Regions from separate parts of the Homo sapiens genome. Here regions 1, 3 and 4 are each linked to region 2. Evidence: promoter capture Hi-C in 16 types of primary human blood cells and fetal thymus (Javierre and others, 2016). All regions are on one chromosome and are shown on one strand. Each heading gives the region's core, a stretch centred on a gene start or on the middle of the fragment in contact. The rest is flanking DNA. Distances are from core to core; before and after follow the strand shown.

Region 1 (7,093 bases), core at 1,409-3,908, 500 kb after region 2:
CTTGTCTTATGAATAAAATGTTCAAGGAAATAAAGGTCTTCCATCTGTCCTCTGAAACATTTAATTCTGCCCCCTCTCAGCTAGAAAATTCATGTTGGGTGGATTTGGGGTTTCTTCAACTGCTGCATTCTAGACTGTCTCTTAAGAGAATGGGGGATTATTTTAATGGAATGAGGGATTATTCCAGAGTCTCAGAATTAACTATTTAGTCACTGACATTATGCTAAGGAAGCTGAAAGATTTAAGAAGGACATGAAAGATTTTATAGCTGTTCTCCCCTTTCCAAGATTTTAAATGAGTGACTCTCTAGCCCCTAACGAATTAGCTCAGGCAGCACTGTGATCCTAGACACCTGCTTGTACTTAATGTTGGCCACAACAGCAGCAGGAGCACAGTGGCATATAGGTGAAGGGGATAGATAAAAACAAATCTTGATTTTAGGCTGATTCTATGCAGTTTGCCAGAATCAATGGCCGGTGGAATAAAACTTACTGGAGAGAAATCCCTCTACGAGAGGTTAATTTTGACATTACGGAATTCTCATCTCTAGGGAAATAAAATATATTTCTCTGTGTAAAATCTCTTAATTTCCATTTTGCTTTTGAACACTGAGTTTCTGGTATCCTCACACTGAATTGAATGTGGGTGTAGGATCTATCCACACACCCTCAAGAGCAGGCTTTGGCAGACTTTTGCCATCATGGCTATTGTCACTGCTTTTTGCATGCACCTGTTTGGACCTATCTCCCGAAATCTATCTCCTAGGAAGGTTTTCTCTTCATCCCTACATTTGTTTAAATGGAGAAATCCTTTCCTCAGATTCTTAAGTTGTTAACGCTATTTTTAAAAATTTATTTATTTGTTCGTTTGTTTGTGCTGCAGTCATAGATCACTGCAGCCTCAAACTCCTGCGCTCGAGCAATCCTTTAACCTCAGCTTCCCGAGTAGGCACATGCCACGACACCTGGCTAATATTTTTAATTTCTTTCTTTTTTTTTTGTAGAGACAGGGTTTCACTATGTTGCCCACGCTGGTATCAAACTCCTGGGCTCAAGCAACCCACTGGCCTTAGCCTCCCTAACTGCTGGGATTACGGATGTGAGCCATTGTGCCAGCCAATTGTTGCTGCTATGGATGCTTCTGAAGCTGTGTCCCTGAGGGCCTGAAAAGAATCAATACCTCTGCCATGTGCCCGCAAGATTCCATACACATTGGATTTGGTAACCCTAAAGCCATGGTCAGAGCTTGCGTTATTAACTAATCCAGACCAGTTGGAGACCACATGCTAGGGGCATCATACTGGAGCGTCTGAACCAGCCACATGAATCCGAGATTTGTCCCTCCATGGGACTATGGGTGTAGGATGGGATTTGGAGCAGTTTTCTAACACTCTTTAGGGCTAACACCAACAATTTCAAATCAGAAATTCACTAGTTCACAGGGACACCAGCTTCTTTGCAATTAAAAGTAGGAACTATGATGCTGCCTCCCAGTGCATGAAAATAAATTGAATTCTATGTCAGCCTCTCCAGCAATAGGCAGAGCAGACTGCCCCTTTGGGGACAAGAGGATAAGCTGCAGCAGCTTAGGGTCTGTGAGCCCTGCATGCTTTTTAGTTAAGGCCACTTGCCCACAATCCTTCCTATATAAAAGCAGCCACTCACCTCTGGGCAAACCTGCCATACCTGCAGTAATGCAGCAAGGTCAAAATCTTGCCTGGTTTGCCTGCTTGATGTCCAAGGCTTAAAGTCACTGGCTCAGGCTGCAGCCATCGGTATACCTGGAAAAATACAGCATGATATACACCAGCAACACCTGCTAGAGTCACAAACCCACACGCTCTGTACTTTGTCAAGCCTCAGCAAAGCTTGAAAGCATTCACTCTAACAACACTAGAAGTCTATTTTTTTTTCTTTCCTTAAGCTAAATACCAGACCTCGTTGATCTTTCAGGTAGCCTCACCCACCCAGTCACAGGAAGCACAAGACAATATAGGTGCCTACTGGAGGGAGAAGGCAGTTACTACCAGTTTACTGCATATTTGAGAGTAGATCAATTGCATGCTTTCTGCAGGCAAGCCAATTCCAAGGAGAAAGAAAAGAGTAATAGGTGGAGCTCAACCCAGTTCTTCCTGTCAAATCTATTAATGACTGTAAGGAGGTGTTGAGAGGCAAGAAGTGCTTAGAGAAATTCAGAAGGAAGGGGGAGGAGTCTCACTGGTCCCTCAAAGTAAGGGTTCAGATTTATTATTTTTTTCTAAGCATCTGTCATTAAAACACACTTTTCCCCACTGATTTGAAGTACCACATTTCAATTACTTCATTTATTTTTATTCATAGGCCTACAATTGTCCATTCATTCACCAGTTCCCAACTGTTTAAATTATAAAGGTGTTAAAGATTATATTTTAAATATTTAAGTAGATCATTATTCCCTCTTGCTCTTTTCCCACACTAATTTGATGGATATTTATGTGATCATTTTCTTACATTTAAAAGTAATAATTTTCTGATATTTTGAAATCAGATTATAGATGTGGCATAGGATTCTAATACAATAAACACTTTATAACATATACTTATTTGTACTTTTTTTCCTTCAACTTCTAGACTTTGAGCTCCAAAAGGACAAGGAGGACTTATTTTCAGCTCTGCATTTTATACAATAGTTCCCACCTATGTTGTGATTGAAACAACAAGTTTTTTAAAGAATATATCATTCTTTGTACACCACTGCCTTTTTAAAAGTATCCTCTACTTAGATTCCTTTTCTCTAACTTTTCTATCAGCCGTATTCTGTTTATTCTGCCATAACCACACAGAATGTAAACTCCTCTGAGAAGCCTTCATTTATGCTTGCCCAGGTAGAATCTTAGCCTCTCCTCTAGAATGCTGTATTACTATCTATTGGTCTCTATTTTATCCTCATCATCTTTAACTGTGTTTTTATTTATCTATCTTCCTAGAGATAACAAGTTAGGCTATTGATAGAAGAACTGTAATATTCATGGTTTTTTTTTTCACCCTGGATATTCCCTGACATATACATTTGATAAATGAATGAATGTAATGAATGCGAATTGCTTTTGCTTTGTAATATTTGTCACAATTAAGAATAAATTTTGTGTAACAATTCTATTTTTTAATGAATGCTGTTAAAAATAATTGTAACTGGGGGGCTATTAGATTGGCATGGCTCTAGCGCTTTGAGTTCCTACCAAAGCAAATCAAACCTCTAGCCATTGAGAAACTATCAACTAACCTCCAACTAGGAACTTGCCACTCTAACCAATTATATAATTGTTTGTCTTGCTTGTGCCAACACTTCATAAGTTTCCTTTCTCACTTCTCCAGCGGAGTGCCAAACTATTTGCAGTCCAGTGCTGCCCGATTTATGAATCACTGAATGCTCAAATAAACTCTTTAAAATTTGAATGCAACTAAGCTTATTTTTTAACAATGTCTTTCTCATTAGATAGTAAGCTCCAGGAGATCAGGGACCACGTCAATCTTGTTTACCATTGTATTGTCTGGTTCTGGAACAGAGTAGCTTGTCAAAAAATATTTATCAAATAAATTGTTATTATTTCTTAGTGATATTATGAGACCTTAGCAAATGTTTATGTGAAACATTTGCATAGAAAAATTATTATATATAAATGATCAATACACATTTCAGAAAATAACCCCATTTTATAATGGGAGTCTTTAAAGTCCTTATTTTTTACATTTTTATTTTTGTTTTTTTTGAATAAATAAGTGTTTATGGAGCTTACTCTACAGTAATGTCCAATACTGTACAAAATTGTACAGTAATGTCCTAGGTCTTAACATTCACTCAGCATTCACTCAATGACTTACCTGAGAGAAACTTCCAGTCCTGCAATCTCCATTCATGGTAAATGCCCTATATATGTGTGCCATTTTAATCTTTTATACAGTATTTTTACTGTGCTTTTTTTCTTCTTCTTCTTCTTCTTTTTTTTTTTTTTTGGAGACCGAGTCTCATTCTGTTGCCCAGGCTGGAGTGCAGTGGCGTGATCCCGGCTCACTGCAACCTCTGCCTCCTTGGTTGAGAATAAATCTGGATATATACCCCTGGAATATTATTTTTCAGAATTATTGATTATTTTACAGACCCTTTCTTATTAAAACAACTATAAATATTCAATACAAAAATCTAAATGCAATGACAAGATTTCTTCGGGAAGTAACAAGTGAAATAGAATAGTCCGTCTCTACTAAATACACAAAAAATTAGCTGGGCTTGGTGGCCTGTGCCTGTAATCCCAGCTACTCAGGAGGCACTGTCGCCCAGGCTGGAGTGCAGTGGCGCGATCTCAGCTCACTGCAACCTCCGACTCCCAGGTTCAAGCGATTCTCGTGCCTCGGCCTCTTGAGTGGCTGGGACTACAGGTGCCCGCCACCACGCCTGGCTAATTTTTTGTATTTTTAGTAGAGACGGGGTTTCACCATCTTGGCCAGGCTGGTCTTTAACTCCTGACCTCATGATCCACCCACCTCTGCCTCCCAAAGTGCTGGGATTATAGGCGTGAGCCACTGCGCCTGGCCTAAAGTCCTTATTTTAAAAGTCATCAAGAGACTGTGATCACAGAAGATATCCTTCAGGAAAGTAACACATCTTGCTCTAAGTCAAGATATGATGGGAAATCTATTCATAAAACATTGATAGGGTGCATATAAATAGGCTTTTAGCCATTGAAACAGCAGCCATAGGTTTACTGTGTCAACAGAAATGTATTAACATGACAGCTGGATAAAATAACATAAAATGAGCCATAATACTGCTTCATTTTTATTTCACTTGTTACTTCCTGAAGAAATCTTGTCATTGGATTTAGATTTTTTTATTGAATAGTTATGTTGTTTTAATAAGAAAGGGTCTGTAAAATGATCAATAATTATGAAAATAATATTCCAGGGGTATATATCCAGAACAGCACACTTCTAAGGGAAAAATGCTTCCAAAAATATAGAAATTACTGGATCTCCATATACATGACAGAAAATATCTAGATGCCATTATTAAACAATGTACTAACCACGAACCATCAGTAAGTCATTATTGTTAATATGCATGATACGTATTGTACTTAATATATGATTATAGGAAAGGAAAAATAGTTTTCTCTTATTCTTTCTGAGTTCTCAGATGGAAACCCCTGTAACAAAAGACAGATTAACAGGAGAAAAACAAGCAGAAGTTTTTTAACATGTATATTTTATATATAAAGTCATATATCACTTAATGCAGGGATATTGTCTGAGAAATGTGTCATTAGGTGATTTGATTGCTCTGCATACATCATAGAGTATACTTACACACACTTAGATGGTAGAGCCTACTATACACCCAGGCTACATGATATAGCCTATTGCTCTTGGGCTACAACACTGTATAGCATGTTACTTTGCTGAATACCGTAGACATTATAACACAATGGTAGGTATTTATGTATCAAAATATATCTAAACATAAAAAAGGCACAGTAGGCAGGGCTTGCTGACTCATGCCTGTAATCCCAGTACTCTGGGAGGCCGAGGTGGGTAGATCACCAGAGGTCAAGAGTTCGACATCAGCCTGGCTAACATGGCGAAATCTCGTCTCTACTAAATATACAAAAAATTAGCTGGGCGTGATGGTGTGTGCCTGTAATCCCAGCTACTCAGGAGGCTGAGGCAGGATAATCCTTGAACCCAGGAGGGAGAGGTTGCAGTGAGCCGGGATCGCGCCACTGCACTCCAGCCCGGGTGACAGAGTGAGAATCGGTCTCCAAAAAAAAAAAAAAAAAAAAAAAAAAGGCACAGTAAAAATACTGTATAAAAGGTAAAAATGGCACACCTATATAGGGCATTTACCATGAATGGAGATTGCAGGACTGGAAGTTTCCCTCGGGTAAGTCATGGAGTGAATGTTAAGACCTAGGACATTACTGAACAGTTTTGCACAGTAATGTACACTACTGTACAGTAAGCTTCATAAACACTGCATACTTAGGCTACACTAAGTTCATTAAAATATGTTTCTTTCTTTAATAATGAATTAACCTTACTTATCATAACTTTTTTACTTTACAAACTTTCCAATTTTAACTTTTTGACTCTTTTGTAATAAGGCTTAGCTTAAAACATAAACACTTTGTACAGCTGTGCAAAAATATATAAATATTTTTGGATGGAGTTTCACTCTTGTCGTCCAAGCTGGAGTGCAATGGTGTGATCTCGGCTCACTGCAACCTCTACCTTCTGGGTTCAAGTGATTCTCCTGCCTCAGCCTCCCAAGTAACTGGGATTACAAGCATGCACCACCACACTTAGCTAATTTTTGTATTTCTAGTAGAGACCGAGTTTCATCACATTGGCCAGGCAGGTCTCGAACTCCTGACCTCAAGTGATCCACCCACCTTGGCCTCCCAAAGTGCTGGGATTACAGGTGTGAGTCACTGCGCCCAGCCAAAATTATTTTCTTTATGTCCTTATTCTATAAACTTTTTTCTACTTTTCAATTTTTTTATTTTACTTTTTAATTTTTAAACATTTTTGTCAAAAACTAAGACACAAACACACACATTAGCCTAGGGCTACAGAGAGTCAGGGTTATATATATCACTGTCTTTTCATGTCTTGTCCCACTGGAAGGTCTTCAGGGGCAATAACTTGCATGGAGCTATCTCCTCTGAATGGCTTCTTCTGGAATACCTCCTGAAGAATTGCCTGAGACTGTTTTACAATGAACTTACGTTTATAATAAGTAGAAAGAGTACACTCTAAAATAATGATAAACAGTATAGTATAGTAAATACACAGACCAGTAATACATTTATTATCAAGTATTATGTATCATACCTAATTGTATGTGCTATAATTTTATATGACTGACAATGCAGTAGGTTTCTTTACACCAGCATCACCACAAGTATGTGAGTGTCAAGGAAAAGAGTCAAACTCTGTAAAATATTTGAAAGGATTTATTCTGAGCCAAATATGAATGACCATGGCCCATGCCACAGCCCTCAGGAAGTCTTGAGAACATGTGCCCAGTGTGTTTGGGGCGCAGCTTGGTTTTACACATT
Region 2 (7,585 bases), core at 552-3,051:
TTTGGAACATGTGTGGCTTTGGTAAGAGTTATAAGGTACACTGGAGGGAAAAAGGGCTTGAGCGAGGGTGTCCCCCAACTGAAAGAGGCAAATTCAGAACAAGGGTCTACTTGTCTATTTCAATTAGCTAATTAGGAGATATAAGCATTAGAAATAGTGGAGCCTGTGACCACACAACTCACGCAGTCTAATAAAGTAACCTTTAGACAACAGCTGTAATGTAAAAGGCCCATGCCAAAAACAACAGAGCAGAGCCGAGTTCCTGTCCCTTAAAGCAGGACAGCTGAGATGGTGGCTGAGTTTAATGACAAAAAAGGACAAAACAAAACAAACAATAATCCCGACCAAGGTTTTCTGAAGAGAGGAAAATGTAATAATTAGAAGCTAGACATTTAACAAAGCATTGTTTTATGGAAAAGTGCCAACCTTATCAATAGACTTCTGGTGTCTTACTATTGGCTAAGAAGACATTTCAATTTACTGAATGTTTCCTGGGTGAAACTAAGATATTGTATCAATTAGTAAAAAATCTAAATTAGGATTAGCATAATTAGTTATGCAATGAAAATTTTAAGAACAACAACAAAAAATCCCTGATCTAGCATCAGTTTTTAAAAAGTACTCATTTTTTTCCTATACCTAATGTCAGTGGCAGAAAATGCTGAGAAATTGGGATATTGCTTTCCAAAGATCTTTTTCTTCTTAAAACAATTACATCAAAAGTTATAGCTAGGGATAAATGATTGTGACACAGATTTCCAAGTTACTGCCAAATACAGGGTTTTATAAAATTAAAAAGAAAGCTGGATCATTTAAGAAAAGTAATTTATTTCTGGCTTTGACTTTTTCCCGGAACAAACATAAAAAATGTACGATTTTCCTTCTCGGTATTAACAAAATATTTTCCAAATCCACTGCATGCACTGCATTCCTTTATCAGGATCTTATTCAGTTTGTGACTCTGCTGGAAACTGATATCTTAGAATTAATCTGATACGTGCTTTTACCTAGTTTTCTCTTGTTTAATGCTTAAATTACGTATATTAACATTCATTTTAATTATTTTAGGCTTTCTGGAACATGCTACCACACTACAAATATAAAGTTTCAGGTCATTTTTAAAATTTCTTTTTCTCTCTTTAAAAAAAATTCTAACTTTTTGAGGCATTCATAGCTTAAAAAAGTTTCCAAGTTGGGGATCTGTTTTTTTATCTAATGCCAGTCAAATGGACATTTAAGGAAAAACTGCATTTCTAAGGTACACCACAGAGTGTGAAAGATAGTTAATCAGACTGCCTTAACAGCTTTTGATTGTTGTTTAAAATGCAGGCACAGCCTTTTTGAAAATCAAGAACGTTTGCCCTGCACTCAGGTTCTGAAGCCCCAGAGTTACAGAGGGTCATGAGGGTTAAGAGAGAAACAGAGACTCGTCCATGAAGGCTGACAGTTCTGTTTTTCCACTTGCGAGGGCTCAGCGACAGGGGCAGCCGGCCACGGTCTGCCTTCCTCTAAGTAACAACGTTAATGAGTTATAACTGTATGCAGACTTACTGTGATGGCCTGGAGTCTTCCCTTCACCAGCTCAGCTTCTTCCATTCTAGAAGTCAAGGACAGTCAGACGGGGAAGCAAGTCCAAAGCTACCATAAATCAAGGAGCCTCCTGGGGGAGAGGAGCGGGGGTGACAGAAGAGAAGCAGGGAGAAATCCGCTCTTTGCACCAGTGGAGAAATAGAGAAATTCCCGACTTGTCAGGAGCGTCTCCGAGCAGATGCACAGATCAGGCCAGACAGACACATGTAATGAGGGTGTGCTGGGGAGGCAGACGCTGAGGCTGCTGGCATGAGTTGACTGACAAGTTTGAACGGCAGCGGCACAAGCCCTTTTCCTTCAGGAGCTGCCAGCTCTTTGTTGTAATGTGCACAGTTAGCAAGGCACATTTTCTTATTAACTGTTCCTTACCCAATTCATTATTTTCCAGGAGTGGCACAGAGAGCCAACACACTGAGTGTTTAATCAGCCTCTGCTCTAGCAACACACAGCCATCCCCGGATGTGTTGGTCTGTGTGTGTTTGTACAAAGCTCGTTTACCTGCTTGCTAGCTCTAGGGGAGAGAGCCTTACCTTGACTGAGGCAGAAGTGCCAAGTCACTTGTTTGCCTTTCTTCCACTGATTGGATTTGATAATAATACAACAATCTATAGCTACTTTAAACTTCATGTAGTGGTAAATTTACATTGGTTCGTTCTCCCCCGTCTACACCCCACCCCCGACCCCCCTGCTCAGCACTTTGTTGCAAACTTTGGAATCTTTAGGTCATGGAGAAATCAAAGGTGTTAATGTGACTATATTAAGAAGTTGGCCCACCAAGGTATTTAGTGTGGCTTAAGCACCAAGTGCCACCTTTTGTTATTGCTTGACTTGGATTTCTATGGAATGCAGTTTTCTTTCTTGGACGCTGTTCAGAAATGACACTCTTGGCTTTCAGGAAGGTGCCCATTTTGACCTCACCGGTTACGCAAGAGAGAGGAGTGAGCCTTTGAAAATGTGATGAGACATTTGGTAACTGCCTGGAGCCCGGCACTGTGTGAATATTCGCCCATCCTTTAGAAAAAGGCAGGCAAGCCCAGTGAGACTCTTAGGTCAAAGCAGAGGCTGGGAAGCTGTACAATTGGCTCTGTCTGTTTTCTTTTCCCTACAGGTTCTTTAATTAAATTTTGCTGAAGTAAATCCTAATTACCAACTACCTTATTATTATGTGTTTGAATGCTATTAAGCGCTTTCATATCAACATTCAGCTGAAGAGGTTAAAAGGACAACCCAAACATTGAACATATGGTTTAATTTCCTTTGCAGTTTTGATATTAGTAATAATAATAGCTAATATTTGTTGCATTCTTTCTACAGGTAAATGCATACTTGCAAAGTGCTGAGAGATAAGTGCTATAATCCCTACTTTAAAAATGAGGGAACAGGCTCAGAGAGGTAATTTGCCATATAGCTAGTAAGTAGCAAAGCCAGGATTGGAACACCAGCTGCCTGACTTTATAAGTGGCATTCATCAAGGACTGCCCAAGGACACGGGGCAAGGAGAGGCACAGGCTGAAGGTTAAGTCAGTCTTTATGAGAAGTGGTTGGACCCCCAGCCTCCTTCTCTGTCTAGCTCCTAGAACACTACAGCTGGGTGTAACAGCCTAAGGCAGAACGGTGTGGGAATGTCCTCTGGAGAAACTTATTGGCCCTACTGAGGTTTCCCCACATTGTTGACTGGAGTTCCCCAACCACAGAGCCCTCATTCTGTCAGTCACTATAAGGTGAAACCCATGTTTTAAGAGTCTGAAATTATACTTGAGAGTAGTTTGTCCTTGCTCATACACCCTCAGAAGGGATACTTAGGGAGACCAGAGAATGGGAGGATTGTTTGGATGTGTGCCAAGTTTGATTACTGTTGGAAACATATTTAAGTGTAAAAAAAATCAAACCTTCAAGACTTCTGATTATGTTTATTTGTAGATCCTGGCTGAAATTAAAGACAAGAAAGCAGTAATGATAAATATCTCAGTCAGAATTGCATATTTGGTGCCTAGAACAAATGGGCAGTCATCCAATTATTAGTCTGGATCTTTTCCTAAAAACAATTTACCTCTCAAATCTCATTTCTGCTAGAGGAAAACCCAAGATTTTGCTAGTGTAGGGGAGGACAAGATTTAAAAAAAGAGGATGGGAATTTAGGAGGGAGCAGAGTTGCAACAACTGATTGGTATCATCATGTGAGTGGTAGGCAGAAAAGGCTGGAGCTGGGAAAATCTGGGGGACCTGAGTGGAATCCTGGAGCCAGAGCTCTGATGGTCTTGACAATCTCCCTTGGACTGCAATACAGATTAGGATGTTTCCACTCAACTTCGCCTCCCTTTCTCTTTCACCTGCCTCTTAGACATGTCCAGCTCCAGCCTTTTCTGCCTGTCCTCCCATGTTCTCTCATACAGTCATTTCTCCTAATAAAATTCTGTACATTTAACCCATCTTGGCATTTGTTTCTTATAGGATCCAGAATAACATCATCATTTCCACATCTACTGTATTTTGTTTACTTAATCTTTTATTGTCTACCAGAATGTAAGTTCCAGGAGAGGAGAAATTTTGTTCAGACACCTAACACAGTGCCTGACACATCAGAGGTTCTCAATAAATATGTGCAGAATGAATAACAAATGCTTAAAAAATTAACAAGTATTAGTATTGTCAACTAAATGAATGAATAAACACATGATGAGACACATCAGTTGTCAGCAACCAAAGTAGTCCAGTGTTTCTCAGGAATTTTAGCATTCTTGCCATGCTCAGTCACTGGCTGGGAGTAGCCCCTGGGAAGCATAGCCTTGAAGCAAACATAGGAATGGATTTCAGAGTGAAACAGCTTGGGACTCTTGGGTCAATTATGCTCCTGGAGTTCAATGTCTGAGAGGCACTTTCTCATCAGCCATAGTGATAAATGCTATGGAAAGAAAATAGAGCAGGGAGGAGAATAAAGATGGCTAAGGCAGGGAATGTTGCAATTTAGAATTGGGTCACTAAGGTAGCCTCAGTGAGAAGGCAATATTTGAGCAAGGTCTTGAAGAAGAGGTGAGAGTTCGTGATGAGGATATTTATGGGAAAAGCATATCAGGAAGGGCCTGTGCAAATGTCCTGTGGTGGGCCATACCTGCCATGTTTTATGAACAAGGCTAGTGTGGTTAGAGAGCTGGGACTAAGAGAGGGTTAACAGGAAATTTGGTTGGAAATGTAACAGGTCCCAATTCATGCAGGGTCCAGTAGGCCATTGTAAGGACTTTAGCTTTTAGTCTGTGTGGGATGAGAAGGCATTGAGGTGTTTTAAGCAGAGGAGTGTTTTGCAAGTGTGAAACAGGAAGACTAGATAGGATGTTATTACAGTAATCCAGATGAGAGATGATGGTGGCTTGTGTCAAGGTGGTAACAATGAGAGTGTTACCACCTTGGTTGTACCATGGTTGTACCATGGATAACTTTTGATTCTGTTGGTGGATTGGATATAGGGGTTTAAGAGAAAGAGAGGATTCATAATCACTCTTTGCCTGAGTGAATAGAAGTCGCCATCAATTGAGATAGTGAGGTTGATGAACTAGGTTTTTTTTTTTTTTTTCTTTTGAGGGAGAGGATGGATACCAAGTTTTGGAAAAGTCAATTGGTTCTCCACATGGAGATGTTGAGTAGGCAATTGGATATACGAATTTGGAGTTCAGGAAAGAAGTCTCAGGTGGATTTATAAAATTTATTGTAACTACGGAAGGATCACAAAACATCCAGAATTATAGTTCAAAAAGCAGTATATGTTAGCGAACTAGCTTCCATTAAATATTAACCTTATATTAATGACCAAATTCAGCCTTTGTAAAATAGATATATAATAGAGCACTATCTGCTGTCATTTATCTTATTGAACTACTTTTACCAAGTATTTTTGTTGTTTTCCAGCCAGTGTAAACGAGGATGGCAAGAGTTAAAAGTTACAGTCAATTAGTTGACATTATATTAGGAGGTAGGGATATAAGCGATTATGAGACAGTGCTCCTTCTTACAATGAATTTACTGTCTGGCTGGAGAGATAAGACGCGTGCTCAAAACAATTAGAAGACAAAAGAATAGTAAACCAACCGTTGTTGTATTCCGATGAAACAAAGTGCTAACTATTGCACAATTTGAGCCCAGAAAAGTATATCATAGTGAATGATAGTAGTGTGTGGGATTAGCAGTGAGTGCAACATGAATTGAAAATTGAGGTTAATGTGAGTTGCAGGAAAGCGACTGCAGGGAGAAAGTAGACTTTAGAAGCAGAGAAGCCATTTCTAAGCATGAGAGGGGGTGAAACAATGTGTTAGAGGTCCATAAGGGAGAGTGTCCTGTCTGGAGCAGAAAGGAGAAATTAGAGAGATTGATAGAGATATACATTTATACATAGAACTTGATGTTCAGGGAAAGTGGGAGAGAAAAGATCAGATTCATATTTTAGGGAAATAAAACTGCCAACTGTCTCAGAACATATAGAAGGAGGGAAAATTCAGGTAAAGAGATCCATCAGGAAGGGTGACTATGAAAGAGTCTGTAGAAAGAGCCTGTAGAAGGAAACTAAAAAATTGCTGATGTTCCACAAAAGGAAAGGTCCCCAGTGTTCTTCCTCACCTTCAGAAGGTCTGAACTCAGAGACCACAAACTGGATGAACATGAAGGACAAAGTAAGTAGAGGAGAAGTGTTTAAGGTGCTAATACAAATGTGTTAGAATCCAAGGGGGATGGCAATGGGAATGACCAATAAGGAAGAAATCTACAAGAAATTTCAATAAGAGTGTTCAACTGGAGAGAAGGATGAGAATTTGATAGGTTCCAAATGAAGTACAAAATAGGAGCTTGAATTGGAAATTTCAGATAGAAAATCACAAAGAAATGAAATCTAATGAAATAGTGGCAGGAGAAAATTGAAGGATGCCGAAGGCAGGATGTATATGTTGAAAACATCTCTAGAGCCTTTTTGAAACCAGATCCCGTGTTAAAAAACTGGATGCTCATTCTCCTTCTCACTCTTCTCTCTTTCTTTCTCTCTCTTTTTCTTCCCGTCTTTCTCTCTTTATAACTTCTCAGACTTCTGGAGGCCAGAAGTAGTGTCACGCTAAGAATACGGTGTTTATTTTTTATACGACATCTCTGAAGGAACCATTAGAAAAATCTTCACTTTCAGATTTACCATGTGCTAATGAGTGTGTTTCTATTTTCTTTTGTTTAATCCTTGACCCTTATTCTCTCACATCACTGGACAAGGTGAGTTTTTCATCGACCTTTTATTCTTTAGTAGACCATTGGAAGGGATTTAATTGCCATAGGCAAGTAACAAATAGTATGTGAGTAGGTTGACCACATAAATCAAATTAAAAAATCTGACCACATAAATCAAATAAAAATTATTTTGATTTGTTGGTACTATAACATACCCATTTCATTGTGAGGTAATTTGAGCTTTATGGTTTAAAGAGTAAATGAGGAAAAAATAGTAGGCTTCAAGACAATCTACAGTACAGATGCTTATCTTACTTGAACTCTCCATGACACTGGGCAGAGTTAATCTCTCCTTCTCTCTTCACTTGGCTTCCAGGACACCTCTCTTGATTTTATTTCCATGTCATTAGTCTCTCCCTCTCAGCCTTCTTTGCTGGTTCTTTCTCCTTTTCTCAATGTCTTAAAATTGCAGTGCACTAAAGCTGCAGTTGTTGGTGATCTTTTCTTTTCTATTCCTTTCCAGTCACTCTCAAGATCTCATTTACTCTCATTTTAATGCCATTTAGATGCTAAGATTCATGCATTTATTTATATCTCCAGCCTAGACTTCTCTTCTGTGCTGGAACTCCCTTACCTTAGAAATCTGTATGCCTCATTCTCTCACCTTCTTAGGTCTTTGCCGAGATGCTACCTTCTCAATGAGGCTACCTTGACTACACTATACAAAACCACAAATCCCTCTTTCTGAAACTACGAATCCTCCTCATCTCGCTCTATTTTTTTTTTTTTACCTTTGTCATGT
Region 3 (7,123 bases), core at 1,812-4,311, 440 kb after region 2:
ATGCTGAAAAGGCACACAATCCCCTTCTGTTTAAAGTGGAGTTTTTGAGAAATGATAATTATTTTGCTTGTTCTCATGCTTTTAAGTTTCTTATGAAGTAAGCTCTTTATTTTGGGGGAGAAAAATTATCCTGGTAGTTAAGCTCATTGATAACACTAAAATTAATTGATCATCAATCTTTTACATAATTTATTAAGGTAGACATGATGTTTTTGAAAATCTCATTTGAGTTTTACTCTTTAACATGCATTCTATTGCCTATCAGGTTTTATCTTTATGCAAGAAATCATAGTACATTTAGAAATTCCTTTATAAAATTCTTTTATAATACATATAAAAATTCCTTTATAAAACACCTTTATAAAGGTGTACACATTATTGTAATATTATCAAGCCAAATGTCTCAAGTTAAATGACACTCAGATTATTATTAGGTTCCCTTGGCTTCTTTTCACTTGGGCTTCTAAGAATTACTGCATACTAGTATTACGAAAATATTTTGGATCATCCTTGGTTTCCCAAGTAGATATGTGAGATTTGAATTCTTAGAGTTGAATCCAAATTATACTAGATCTAGAAGTCAGGTGTTCTTGAGTAATCTTTTGGGCCACAACTGAGTCTTCAGTGAGTCTTTGGAAACAAGCATTAGCTTAGCTAGCCCATATTCCCCACTACCTTTTACTCTATTTCATCAATTACAGCTAAGAAGATTTGCCTCTATCCAATAGAATTTTATGTCTAGAACTAGTTTTGATTTCAGACTTAGCCCCCAGGTTTCTTCTGGTAGGCAACTCTTTTCAGATGATTCCATGTAAGTTTAGACAAGCATAATGGCTTTTGGTCACATTTGAGATAATTAACTCAGTCTCAAGTGATTTAAATTGTCATCTCTGAACTTGTGTTTCCTTCCTCTGGGTAAATTCTAAAACCATAAACGTTTTAAGAACACTAGTCAGGCATCTTGAGGCTGAGGTGGTGTCCATTTTCAACCACCATGTCATGAAGCCACACAAGGAGTCCTGTGAAGAGGTCCACATGGCAAGAAACTGAGGCCTCTTGGCAACAGCCATTTGAGTGAACCATCAGAAAAGTGGATCCTCCAGCCAAGACTTCTGATGAGTGCCGCCCAGCTAACATGATGACTACAAAACTTTTAAGGACCACTGAGCCAAAACCACCCAGCTAAGCTGAATTTCTGATTCATAGAAACTATGAGATAATACATACTTGTTGTTATTTCAAGCTGCTAGGTTTAGGGATATGGTTTTGCAACAATAAATAACTAATACAGAGTCAAAGATGTGTGTGTGTGTGTGTGTGTGGTGTGTGTGTGTGTGTGTTTCTTTCCTATGGTGGGCTGTCTTCACTATATTGGGGTATTAACAGTTAACTACTGGGTTTGCGTAGGGCCTGAGTTTGGGAGAGGGGAATGGGAGTAGAGATAGTCAAAAGGAATATATTGAAACACATTTTATTATCATATTGTCACAGAAAGTAATATCTCTGAAGAGATGGAGGTAATGTCTTAAATTTAATAGTAATGACGCCCTCAAATCCATTTTCCACATTGCAACCAGGAAGCTCTCACTGAAGGGTAAATCAGCTATATAATTCCGCTGCTTAAATCCCTTAAAAAGTCAAAGCCAGTACTCCATAAATGGTTCACAAGACCTCTGTTAACCTGTGCTGTGCTTATCTCTTTAGCCATGATTCACCAACAACTCCAGTCTCCAATCTCTGGTCTTAGGCTTTTTCTTCTGCATGGAATTCCAAACTCTTACCCTGACTTTTTTGGACTCCAAGTTATCTAGCCAAGTTTAGGTCTCCTTCAAGACTTTCCTGACACCCTAAACACAGTTAGATGCTTTTTCTCTAGGCTGCCATAGTATCCTTGCTTACATCTGAAATGTCCTTTATTGATGAATATTAATATTACCCTCCTAATATCTATCTTTCCCAGTATAGTATAAGAAATTTGAGGGCAAGGATTGTGTCTGTTTTATTTTGCAACTTCAGTGCACATTTGGGAAAATAATTATTATTCAATGAAGACCTAATAAATTGAAGAATAAATAAACACAAACTTATTCCAAGCCAAACTGGTATAATGCACACAAACTTTCCAAAAAATAAATGATACTTTCTATTCCTTTTTTAAACATATAGCATTACAAATGTTTCTAAACTTTGGGAGTTATTTCATTAGCAGGAAAGTCAAGATTGCATTCTTTGAGCATCACTAAATCTTTTAAAGAAATGTGATATTTTCCTTTGGGGTTGTTTTAACTTGATTATTAATGATATCCTTTGTAAAATGCATGGAAGCTTTTGTGACATTACAAATGTCCTTTTCATAAGCCTTATCATTAATCAGAGCAGGTAGATATGGGCAAAAATTGCATTATAGCAAAGAGAATTGAATGTTCCCTATAAATTCAATAGTTTAAGGCCTTTTCTTCTTAACATAATTCTCACTGAAGCAGTTATGCTCTACTTATACACCATAGTCTCACTGGTTGTCAGAAAACATTATTAATCCCATTCCAAACTTGGACCTACTGTTGTGATTCTGTATCCAGAAGGAAATAAAATATTTCATGCTTTTACATTGTCTTAGTTCAGGCTGCTATAACAAGAATACCATAGACTGGGTGGCTTAAACATCAAATATGTATTTCTCATCATTCTGGAGGCTGGAAAGTCCAAGAGCAGGGTGCCAGTGTGGCCAGGTTCTGGCGAGGGCTTTCTTCCTGGTTTCCTCACATGGTGGAGAGAGACAGTTGGGGGTCTCTTCATCCCTGTATAAGCACACCAATCTCATCATGGGAACTTCACCACCATGACCTCATCCAAATTCAGTTACATCCCAAAGGTCTCACCTTCCAACCCTATCACATTGGGAATCAGGGTTTCAGTATATGAATTTTGGAAAAACAGAAACAGCCCATAGCAGATATTGACCCATGTTGGATTGTAAACTGGTATAAAGGGAAAGATTTTTTTTCCCTGTCATCACAATACATTGGTTCTGGCTCTGCGCTGTTGGGTCTTTGGCTTTAAGCCAGGAATCTAACCTCTCTGAACCTGTTTTTTATGATAAAATGGGTGTAATCATTTCCATATCACCAGATCACTATGCAAATTAAATAAGATTATATATCTTTTCTATTATGTAAAATGATATACAACTATAAGATGTTAAAGTATAGTTGTGTACCACATAAGGACTTTTGGTCAGTGATGGACCATATATGACCATAGTCCCATAAGATTATAATGGAGCTGAAAAATTCCTATCACCAAGTGACACTGCAGCAGTTGTAAAGTCACAAACACATATTACTCATGTGTTTGTGGTGATGCTGGTGTCAACAAACCTACTGCACTGCCAGTAGTATAAAAGTATAGTGGATACATTTATGTACAGTACATAATAGTTGATAATGGTAATAAATGACTAAGCTACTGATTTATGTATTTACTATACTACACTTTTAATTTTTATTTTAGAGTGTGCTCTTTCTACTTATAGATTAAAAAGTTAACTGTAAAACAGCCCCAGGAAAGTCCTTCAGGAAGTATTCCAGAAGAAGGCATTGCTATTATAGGAGATAACAGCTTCTTGTATATTATTGCCCCTGAAGACCTTCTAGTGGGACCAAATGTGGAAGAGAAAGACAGTGATACTGATGATCCTGAACCCATGTAGGCCTAGGCCAGTGCATGTGTTTGTGTCTTAGTTTTTATAAAAAAGTTTAAAAAGTAAAGAAACAAAATTAAAAATAGAAACAAGCTTATGGAGGAAATATATAAAGAAATTATTTTTTTACAGTTGTATAATATGTTTGTGTTTTAATCTGTCTTATTACAAAGGAGTCAAAAGGTTTTTAAACAAGTTTATAAAATAAAAAGTTACAGTAAGCTAAGATTAATTTATTACTGAAAAATATTGTTTTATAACTTTAGTATAGGCTAAGTATACAGTGTTTATAAAATTTACAGTAGGGCTGGGTGCGGTGGCTCACGCCTGTAATCCCAGCGCTTTGAGAGGCCGAGGTGGGCAGATCATGAGGTCAAGAGATCGAGGCCATCCTGGCCAACATGTTGAAACCCCATCTGTACTAAAAATACAAAAATTAGCTAGGCATGGTGGTCACGCACCTGTAGTCCCAACTACTCGGGAAGCTGAGGCAGGAGAATTGCTTGAACCGGGGAGGCGGAGGTTGCAGTGAGCCGAGATTGCGCCACTGCACTACAGCCTGGTGACAGAGTGAAACTGTGCAAAAAAAAAAAAAAAAAAAAAAAGAAAAGAAAAGAGAAGAAAAAAAAGTATATAGTAGTGTATAGTAATATCCTAGGTCTTCACATTCACTCACAACTCCGTCACTTACCCAGGGAAACTACTTACAGTCCTGGAAGCTCCATTCAAGGAAGTGCCCTATACAGATGTACCATATTTTGCCTTTTATATATGTTTTTACTGTACCTTTTCTATGTTCAGATATGTTTAGCTACACAAATACTTGCATTGTGTTACAAGTGCCTGAAGTATTCAGTACATAACATGCTGTACAGGTTTGTAGCCTAAGAACAATAGGCTCTATCACATCGCCTATACGTGCACTAGGCTATACTACCTAGGTTTGTGTTGGTATACTCTGACATTTTTATGACAACAAAATTTCCTAAGGATGCATTTCCCAGAACATATCCCCATTATTTATTTATTTATTTTATTTTATTTTTTTTGGAGATGGAGTCTCGCTCTGTCGCCCAGGGTGGAGTGCAGTGGCATAATCTCGGCTCACTGCAACCTCCGCCTCCCGGGTTCAAGCAATTCTCCTGCCTCAGCCTCCCTGGTAGCTGGGACTACAGGCGCACACTGCCATGCCCAGCTAATTTTTTGTATTTTAGTAGAGACGGGGTTTCACCCTGTTGCCCAGGCTGTTCTCGAACTCCTGAACTCAGGCAATCCACCCGCCTCGGCCTCCCAAAGTGCTAGGATTACAGGCGTGAGCCACCGTGCCTGGCCCATATCCCCATTATTAAGTGATACTTGAATGTAAATCTAATTTTTGGTTCCCAAGAGTAGCAAAATAACAACAAAAACAATTATAAAAACACAACTAGCATTTACATTTTATCCAGGTACTTTCCACATATTAACTCATTTACAATTAGCATTGAATTTTATCCAGGTACTTGCCACATATTAACTCATGTAATCCTCAAAACAACCCAGTGAGGTAAGTATTTTTATTATTTCCTGTTGTGGTTTGAATATGTTCCCTCCAAAATTTAGGTGTTGCCAATGTAATCGTATTAAGAGGTGGGGCTTTTAAGAGATGATTAGACTTATAAACAATCGCCATTCTGACTGGCGTGAGATGATATCTCATTGTGGTTTTGACTGGCATTTCTCTGATGATTGGTCATAATGAGCACTTTTTTTCATATGTTCATTGGCTGCTTCAATGTCCTTTGAGAAGTGTCTGTTGATGTCCTTTGCCCATTTTTTAATGGGGTTATTATTTTTTCTTTGCTTGTTGATTTAAGTTCTTTATAGATCCTAGATATTGGACCTTTGTCAAATGCAGAGATTGCAAACATTTCCCTGCATTCTGTAGGTTATCTGTTTTACTCTGTTAATAATTTCCTGTGCTGTGCAGAAGCTCTTTAGTTTCATTCTCCCACTTGTCAATTTTTGTTTTTGCTGCAATTGCTTTTGGGGACTTAACCAAAAATTCTTTGCCAAGGCAGATGTCAAGAAGAGTATTTCCTAGGTTTTATTCTAGGATTTTTATAGTTTGAAGTCTCACATTTAAACACTTAATCCATCTTGAATTAATTTTTGTATATGGTGAAAGGTAAGGGTCTAGTTTCATTCTTCTACATATAGCTAGCCATTTACTCCAGATGTTGGTGAGGCTATGGAGAAAAGGGAACGTTTATATGCTATTGATGGAAAGGAAAATTAGTTCAGCCACTTTGGAAAGCAGTTTATACATTTCTCAAAAAACTTAAAACAGAGCTACCATTTGACCCAGTAATGGAAATAGATCATTATACCAAAAGACACATGCATTCATGTTTATCACCACCCAATTCACAATGGCAAAGACATAGAATCAACCAAGGTGCCCATCAGTGGTGGATTGGATCAAGAAAATATGGTACGTATATACTATCGAATACCATGCAGCCATAAAAAGGAACAAAATAATGTCCTTTGCAGCAACATGGATAAAGCTGGAGACCATAATCCTAAGTGAGGTAACATAGGAACTGAAAACCACATATTCTCACTTATAAGTGTGGGATAAACATTGAGTACATAACATGGACACAAACGTGGGAGCAACAGACGCTGTGGACTACTAGAGAAGGGAGGGAGGGATGGGGCGTGGGATGAAAAACTACCTATGCTCACTGCTTGGGTGCAATATACCTATGTAACAAACCTGCACATGTACCCCCTCTATCTAAAATAAAAAATCAAATTTGAAAAAGAGAGAGAGAGATGATAGGCCATGAAGTTTCCTTCCTCATGAATGGGATTAAGGGCCTTATAAAAGAGGCTTTATGCACCATGCAGGGAGCTTGACCTTCTGCCTTCCTCCATATGTGGATGCAGCCAGACAGCTGGAACCTTGGTCCTGGACTTCCAAGCCTGCAGAATGATGAGAAAATCAATTTCTGTTCTTTATAAATTATTCTGTTACAGTAGCACAAACAGACTTATAAATTCACACCTTATAGAAACTGAGAAAAAGAGAGGTTAAGAAAACGGCTAATGATTTTGTCTTGATTCTTGCCAATCATTTTGATTTTTAGCAAAGGCAGATAATACATTTTAAAGATAATTTTGCTTCAAATTTATTTAATGTTTGTTAATCAGAACTTTTACTCTCTTGCTGGCAGGCTATACTAACCCAATTCAAACTACATTTCTCAAATAAAGAAAATTTATTGGTTTAGATGACTGAAAAGTCTATTGTTAGATTTGAACTCTTTCTCCCAACTTCTTCACTTTGGCTTTCTCCTGGTTGGCTTCTTTCTCAGGCATAGCTTGCCCACTGGCCACTGGAAGCTGGAAGCTAACAGTCCCAATAGCTCCAGAAAA
Region 4 (6,902 bases), core at 4,188-6,687, 480 kb after region 2:
GCACCACTGCGCCCGGCTAATTTTTTGATTTTTAGTAGAGACGGGGTTTCTCCATGGTGGTCAGGCTGATCTTGAACTCCCAACCTCAGGTGATACGCCCGTCTTGGCCTCCTAAAGTGCTGGGATTACAGGCATGAGCCACCACACCGTGCTTCTAGTTAATTATTATCTCCGTTTTATAGATAAGACTACTGAGACTTCAGGCCAGGTAACTTTCTCATAGTCACAGAGCTAACAGGTATTGATAATGAGAGTCAATCCTCTTCTCCATTTTATGATAGAGCCCACATTTTTTTCTTCTGCTGTAAAACCTCTAAAGAAGGCCTCAAATGTGACTACTACTGTTAAAATCAGCCACAGGAATTTGTGTTTTGAGTGCTACATTAAACAAACAAATAATCAAATACACCCACTTCCCATCTCCAGTAGATGTCTCTATCCAGGTTATTTTGTGTGATCTCTACCTCTATCCCTTAGGAGCATCCATTATCACGGCTACCATCAGGAAGTGTAACATGGAATCTCGAGTTTAAGATCACTTTCAACCCCTTGACTAGTAACTATCTTTCATAGGTAGAAACACATTTGTTGTGAGCCATTACGAGGAAATGTAACTGACTCCCAGGTCGCCAGAGATAGGCAACCAGGTAGGAAGTGATAGCAAGAGAGCTACAACTTCAAATCCTAATCACTTTCATTCATAGCAGATGTAAGTTTCAGGACGGCAGCCTGCAAGATTCTTTTGGGTAGTAAAGATAAAATCACCCACATAAACCATGGATTTGCCATCTGGAGTGTATTCTTTGGAACTGGTATATCTGAGTTAAAAAAAACTCCTTGGCAAAATATTGCTATCCTGTTGCCATAGTCATAGTTACATTTTTTTCCATTTTATCATGTGTGTGCTTTTTTTTCTCCTTGACCTATTTCTGGGATGTATTTTAAAAATGGAAAGAAAATTCAAGTTGATGTGATAACAGCATCTGGTTTCCCAAATTAAACAAGTTACCTTTATTACCTTTATATTTCCACCTTATTTTCCTTTAAATTATTAGTAATAGAAGTATTTTGGTATATGTTTGGATTTTAAAATTTAGGTGAATATATTTTGAATCACATTTCTAAAATCAAGTTGATATTCCTGAAGTAATTTATCCATTGAAGTTGCTGAGTATGAGTCTATTTCTGATATTAGAAGTAAAAAAGATATAGAAAATGGTATCTAAATATTTTAATTAGACAAATACTTATGAAAAGATTTAGCAAAAATATTTGTGAAACCTATTTTCAGTGGTTTTAATTTTTGCTTCAAGGAACTTTTAAAACATTGAGATCATTTTGTTATTTTTGTCAGATAAGAAATACTTAAATTTCCCAAACTGTACTGTGAGTGGGTATATGAGTTAACATGTATCCCTTAGAATTTGTTTAAGTTTTGTTATTGGTCAAACTGTTAAAAAGCCCTGTTTGATAAAGAAGAAATTAGAGACTGATGTAGATAACAATATGTTAAAGATTTCCTTGTCAGTGATGTAAGAAAAAAAATCTTGTTTTATACAAACATGCACAGACACACATATGTATGTATAAACACACGTAAAGGTATATATATTTACCGCTACATCCATGTATTTCTAACTTCTAAACAAATAAAAATTGACTCAATTGCCTCCAAAGTGTGACTAAAATATAATAAAATTCTCAGTGATTAAATAAAAAATTAAATGGCGCTGGAAGCCATTATTCTTAGCAAAGTACCCTGGGAGCAGAAAACCAGATCCCACATGTTCTCACTTATAAGTAGGAGCTAAATGGTGAGAACACCTGAACACATAGAGGAGAAAAACGCACACTGGGGCCCATCAGAGGGTAAGGGGTGGGAGGAGGGAGTGAACAAATAATCTGTACAACACATCCCCATGACACATGTTTACCTATGTAACTAACCTGCATATGTACCCAAGATCCTAAGAGTTTTGTTTTTAAGAAAGAAGGAAAATAAACGAGAAAGAAAACAATAAGGATATTTAGCCATCTAAGCTAGGAGTATCAAAACACTCTTCTGTCTTTTAACATCTTCCTTAAGTTATTTGATATTGAGGAGAGGGAATAGAAGTTTCTAATTCTATATTTTAAAATAAGTCCTGTATTTTATGTTTATCACATAGGTACTCGTTTCATGAGAAAATACCTTAGCATAAACTTTGCAATATAAAGAACTCAAATTTCAAGCTCTGATTATGTCCACAAAGAGAACTTAATATATTGTACATGTGAGAATATGGTTTCTTTGAAGAACTTCAAGATTTGGGGGGTTGTCTGTGGACATGGAATGAGTTATTAAATAATGAAAGTTGGGCCAGTAGTTTTATTGACTTTATGTGACAAATTTCATTAATATTCATAAGATTTTACTAACAAAAAATTTTAGTAATGCTTTGTTTTGTAATATACTTTGAATAAATAAAAGAAACTCATAATAATTATTGTATCTGTTTTCATTGGGACCAACTAGACTCCAAGTGCTTAACATATATTAGTTTTGGTTAATAATTCTCCAAGACATTCTACAAGGTAGTTATTAACCCCATCTCACAAATAAGAATGACATAAACATCCAGAGGTTAAGAAAATAGCCAAACTCATACAATTCATTAATCAACCTCAAGGTTGCTTTCAAAGCCTGTGCTTTTACTATGAGACTGTCTTTCCTGTAATCAGCATGTTTATTTTCAGCCAGTGCCAACTATTTTAGCGTTAATTTTAGGTTGCGCTGCATGTGCTTGTAGTCTCTTTTCTATTTGGATCAGTCAGGGTAGACTAGGATTTGTCGTGGTAGCAATTTAACTCTAAAGTGTCCATGGCTTAACAGTAACCGTGGTTTATTTCTTACTCATGTACGCTGTCAAGTTGACAACTGGAGCTCTGCACTAAAGGTCCCAGGAAGACTGAGGCTCCACCTTCTGGAACCTCACAGGTGCTTCAAGAGAGGGAGAGAGAATGGGGTGTGCCACAGATTTTTCAGTGCCTTTACCTGCAACGACGCAGTCACTTCTACTCACATTTTATTGCCCAGAACAAGTCTGAGGGCCCCATATAACTATATGGTCTTAGGGGAGCACAGCTTCTCTTATGCAGGGAAGAACAGGGGAACTGTTCATTGGTGAACAGTAATATCTACCATAGCACTCATATTGTATGTTAATTCTAATTAGCCTTAAGAAGTCTGGTAGGTATTCAGTGATATAATTTTTAAAAGACTATGCCCTCCAAATTATTTAGGGAAAAGCACATAGACCATATAGCACATACATTATAAAAGGATCAGAGGGAGCACAAAAACAAGCATACAAGCACACAAGCAAAAAGAATTAGATAAATGAGGGAATAAAACCATGCATAATTATTAAAAATATTGATTAGAAAATAACATAAGGACAGAATTAAATTTTAAAAAGATGGTGTCAGCTCTATTAAAGAAACAAAGTCCAACTACAATGCATCCTATGCAGATGAGTCATATCTAAATCTAGTTAAAGTATGACTAATTTTGTATGAGTCAAATACAGGCAAAAAGATAGTAGGAGATGAAATCAGAGATTTGCACAGAATGGCAGGTATCTTAAATAGCTTCACCACCAAATATGAAAGAATCAAAATCAGTTAATTAAGCGTCCAAGCCAAGAAAGTGGGAAAGATCACCAAAATATATGTTAGGAAAGCAATAGGAATGTTTTAATAAGAATATTAATGAATTTTGGAACAAGAGGGGAAGGCAGAATCAAACACAAATTCCCCAGGTTTGATTCTTGGAAAACAGCAGCAGTAACAACAACAACAGCAAGATATCAAGCTTTATCAAGCATCAACGATAATTACCCAAAACATAAATGTCAATGTCACAAGAAGTAGTATACCTTTCTTCTTTCACAAAAAACCTATATTTTGAATTTAATGATTCTTAGATATATGTCGTTGCTAGCTCCAACCTATTTTCTTCTGTTGCCAATAAATTTGATAATCCAAATAAAGAGAAAAACAAAACCAACAATAACAAGAAAATTAAATCATGAAAGATAGGAATATTTCAGAAAATAGAAACTCATAATTTTCTCAACTAATGAATAATAAATTCAATAATATGTAATGAATAATAACTAAAATCCAATATAAACTGATATTGTTGATAAAATACAAATTATATAATTTGATACAAGAAGAGAAACATATCCAAAGTCCAATAACTGGAAAATATTTTGAGAAAGTTGTCAAGAGATCCTTGAACAATATTTCCAATCAAAGTGATTTCAAAGATTATCTTTCAAAGCATGAATAGAAATAGAAACATTGGTATTTAAACTGTGCCTGATTTCATAAAAAGAAAGAAATCTTTTCAATTATTTTGCAAAGTGAGAATTACACATACACTGGAATCTGAGAGAGATAATATAGATTTAAAAAACAAATCTTTCTCTAATCTGTGCAGATAAAAACCCCAGTAAAGCAAATAATAATTTAAAAACAAAATTTGACTATTGATGCAAAAATATGGCATACTCCCCAAATGGTTAACATCATAATGTATTTAATATTTTTGTACATGACCTACTTGAATTATTCTTGGAATTAAGGAATAGTTCAACATCTGGAATGTATTAATTTTATTAGTTATTTTAAGAAGTTACAAGGGTAGGTAAATGATCTTATCAATGAGTACTAAAACAGGTTTGCTAAAACTCAACTATGATTCCTTTTAAAAAAATCATAAACAGTCTGGGCGCGGTGGCTCACACCTGTAATCCCAGCACTTTGGGAGGCCCAGGCGGATGGATCACCTGAGGTCAGGAGTTTGAGACCAGCCTGGCCAACACAGTGAAACCCTGTGTCTACTAAAATACAAAAATTGGCTGCAAGTGGTGGTGGGCGCCTGTAATCCCAGCTACTCTGGAGGCTGAGTCATGAGAATTGCTTGAACCCGGGAGGCGGAGGTTGCAGTGAGCTGGGACCGTGCCACTGCACTCCAGCCTGGGGTAACAGAGTGAGACTTTGTCTCAAAGAAAAATAAAATCATAAACACAAGATGGATATCATTTCTATTTCTTATACACTAAAATGATATTATGTTTAAAAGTGTCATAATATTAAATGCTCCTTAATGTATAACTATGATATATATCTCATGGTTTGCAAAATGCTTTATAGTGAGCCATAAAAGTATTCTATTAAAGTCATGAACTAGAAAGACACAGATACTTGCTACCATCTCTGTTATTTAATATTGTCAGAGAAATGTTAAAGGAGTTAGAAGTTAAAGAAGGAAATACAATGTGTATGCACTAGAAAAGAAAATATAATACATGAATGTCTCTAAATGATATTGTTATATGCTATGCCTAGAGATGACAAGAAATTAACTGAAAAACCAATAGAAGCAAATAAGAGAGTCTGATAAATTAAATTGCCAAATAATCTAAATAATGTACAAGGTAATGTAAAAGTCTCTGTAATGCCAACAACCGCCAGATAGAGGGAAATGAAGGAAAAAGAGATGTCATCTACAATAATAATACAATGATAATTTCCAAGGAAAAAAACTTTAAATAAATTGTACAATATGCATATGTATAAGCCACAGACTTTACTAAGAAGTATAAAATAAAATTTGAATGAAAATAGAGACATCTTCTATTCTTCATTTGAAATTCTTAAATTAGAAAGATGTTGGTTTTACTAAATTAATTTAAATATGCAATGTAGTACTACTCAAAATCCCAACAGAAAGTTTGGAACTTTATTACTTGATTCTAAAGTTCATCTGGAAGAGTAAGCATGGGGAAAATTTAAAATATAGCAGCAATGTGGTATATAGTAATAAAGCAGTGTGGTACTGCCTCAGAATGTGGAAATCAATAGAAAAGGCCAGATGTAAGAGATAAACCAAGTATATGTGGGATAATTTTCTCATAAGGTATATGATAAAAGTAGCATTTCAAATTAATGGCAGACAAATAGATTATTCAATAAATAGCATTGAGATAACTAGCTAGCCTCATAGGAGGAAGTGAAATTGTCTGTAATAGCACAGACGTAAAGCCTATTGATTTGGCTCCTGGTCCTTCCATTTCTCCACTGCTCACTGCCAGTAACCAGGAGAAGCCATCATCACCTCTCCTGGACTAGAAGAGTCTTCTAGAAACTCTCCCCAACCCAGTTTTCTCTTTAACTTAGATTTAAACAAACATAAAACAAACTATCCAGAGTTTAAAAGAATAAAAATTCAGATTAAGATATTTATATTAATAGGAATTTTCAGAAAAGTGTTCTGAGATGTATTACTAATTCCATAATTTTATTTATGGTTATATTATAAAGCCAGTATTTTAACAGTATCTCACCAATAATATGATTTCTGACCTAGAATGAAATTTTGGAATATAATAAAGTAAGGCTTCTATGTTCAAATACAGTCACTTTTTGATTATTCTCTGATTTCACAATAAGAAGTAAACTTTGATGCAAATAATATACAACATTAGATGATACAGAAACATTTCCCTTGGTTAGGAATAGGTTATATTTATTTTTGGAAGTAGATTTTTCTTTGCAACCGTCACATTTTTTATAGGTTCACATTGGGTGAGGGACCAGACCTTAGCACTTACAAAGTATGATTCTGTGACCAGCTGTATCATCTTTTCCTGGGGACTTGCATGGAATGAAGAATCCCAAGAAACATCCTGTAACTATTGAATCAGAATTTGAATTTTCACAAAATCCACATGTGATTCTTAAGAACATTAATATTTAAGAAGCACTGAACCAGAGTGTCTTCTGGGATAATCTCAGATTTGAAATTTTCTTTCCATAATACATGAAATCACAGGGAATAAACAGCTCAGTGT

Evidence for each region. The method cuts DNA at HindIII sites, captures the fragments that hold promoters and counts their contacts. A CHiCAGO score of 5 or more calls a contact.
Region 1: a contact is called between a fragment that was not itself captured here and the fragment with the promoter of PALMD in region 2, in 1 of 17 cell types (M1 macrophages). The highest score is 5.5, in M1 macrophages.
Region 3: a fragment that was not itself captured here is called in contact with the fragment with the promoter of PALMD in region 2 in 1 of 17 cell types (M1 macrophages); the score reaches 5.1 in M1 macrophages.
Region 4: a fragment that was not itself captured here is called in contact with the fragment with the promoter of PALMD in region 2 in 1 of 17 cell types (monocytes); the score reaches 6.9 in monocytes.

The regions. Positions count from the first base shown.
Region 1 is chr1:99,138,723-99,145,815 of GRCh38, reverse strand. PLPPR5-AS1 (PLPPR5 antisense RNA 1) reads right to left here. Exons shown (of 3, transcript NR_033940.1): 2 at 1,686-1,780. Among named protein-coding and RNA genes, the nearest start is that of PLPPR4, 120 kb to the left of the region's middle. The HindIII fragment of the contact is 1,577 bases long and covers 1,870-3,446 here.
Region 2 is chr1:99,640,329-99,647,913 of GRCh38, reverse strand. It overlaps PALMD (palmdelphin), which reads right to left and starts at 1,801. Exons shown (of 8, transcript NM_017734.5): 1 at 1,552-1,801. The coding sequence starts at 1,596. The HindIII fragment of the contact is 18,161 bases long and covers 1-7,585 here.
Region 3 is chr1:99,205,646-99,212,768 of GRCh38, reverse strand. No RefSeq gene overlaps it. Among named protein-coding and RNA genes, the nearest start is that of PLPPR4, 55 kb to the left of the region's middle. The HindIII fragment of the contact is 1,468 bases long and covers 2,328-3,795 here.
Region 4 is chr1:99,167,371-99,174,272 of GRCh38, reverse strand. No RefSeq gene overlaps it. Among named protein-coding and RNA genes, the nearest start is that of PLPPR4, 94 kb to the left of the region's middle. The HindIII fragment of the contact is 3,163 bases long and covers 3,856-6,902 here.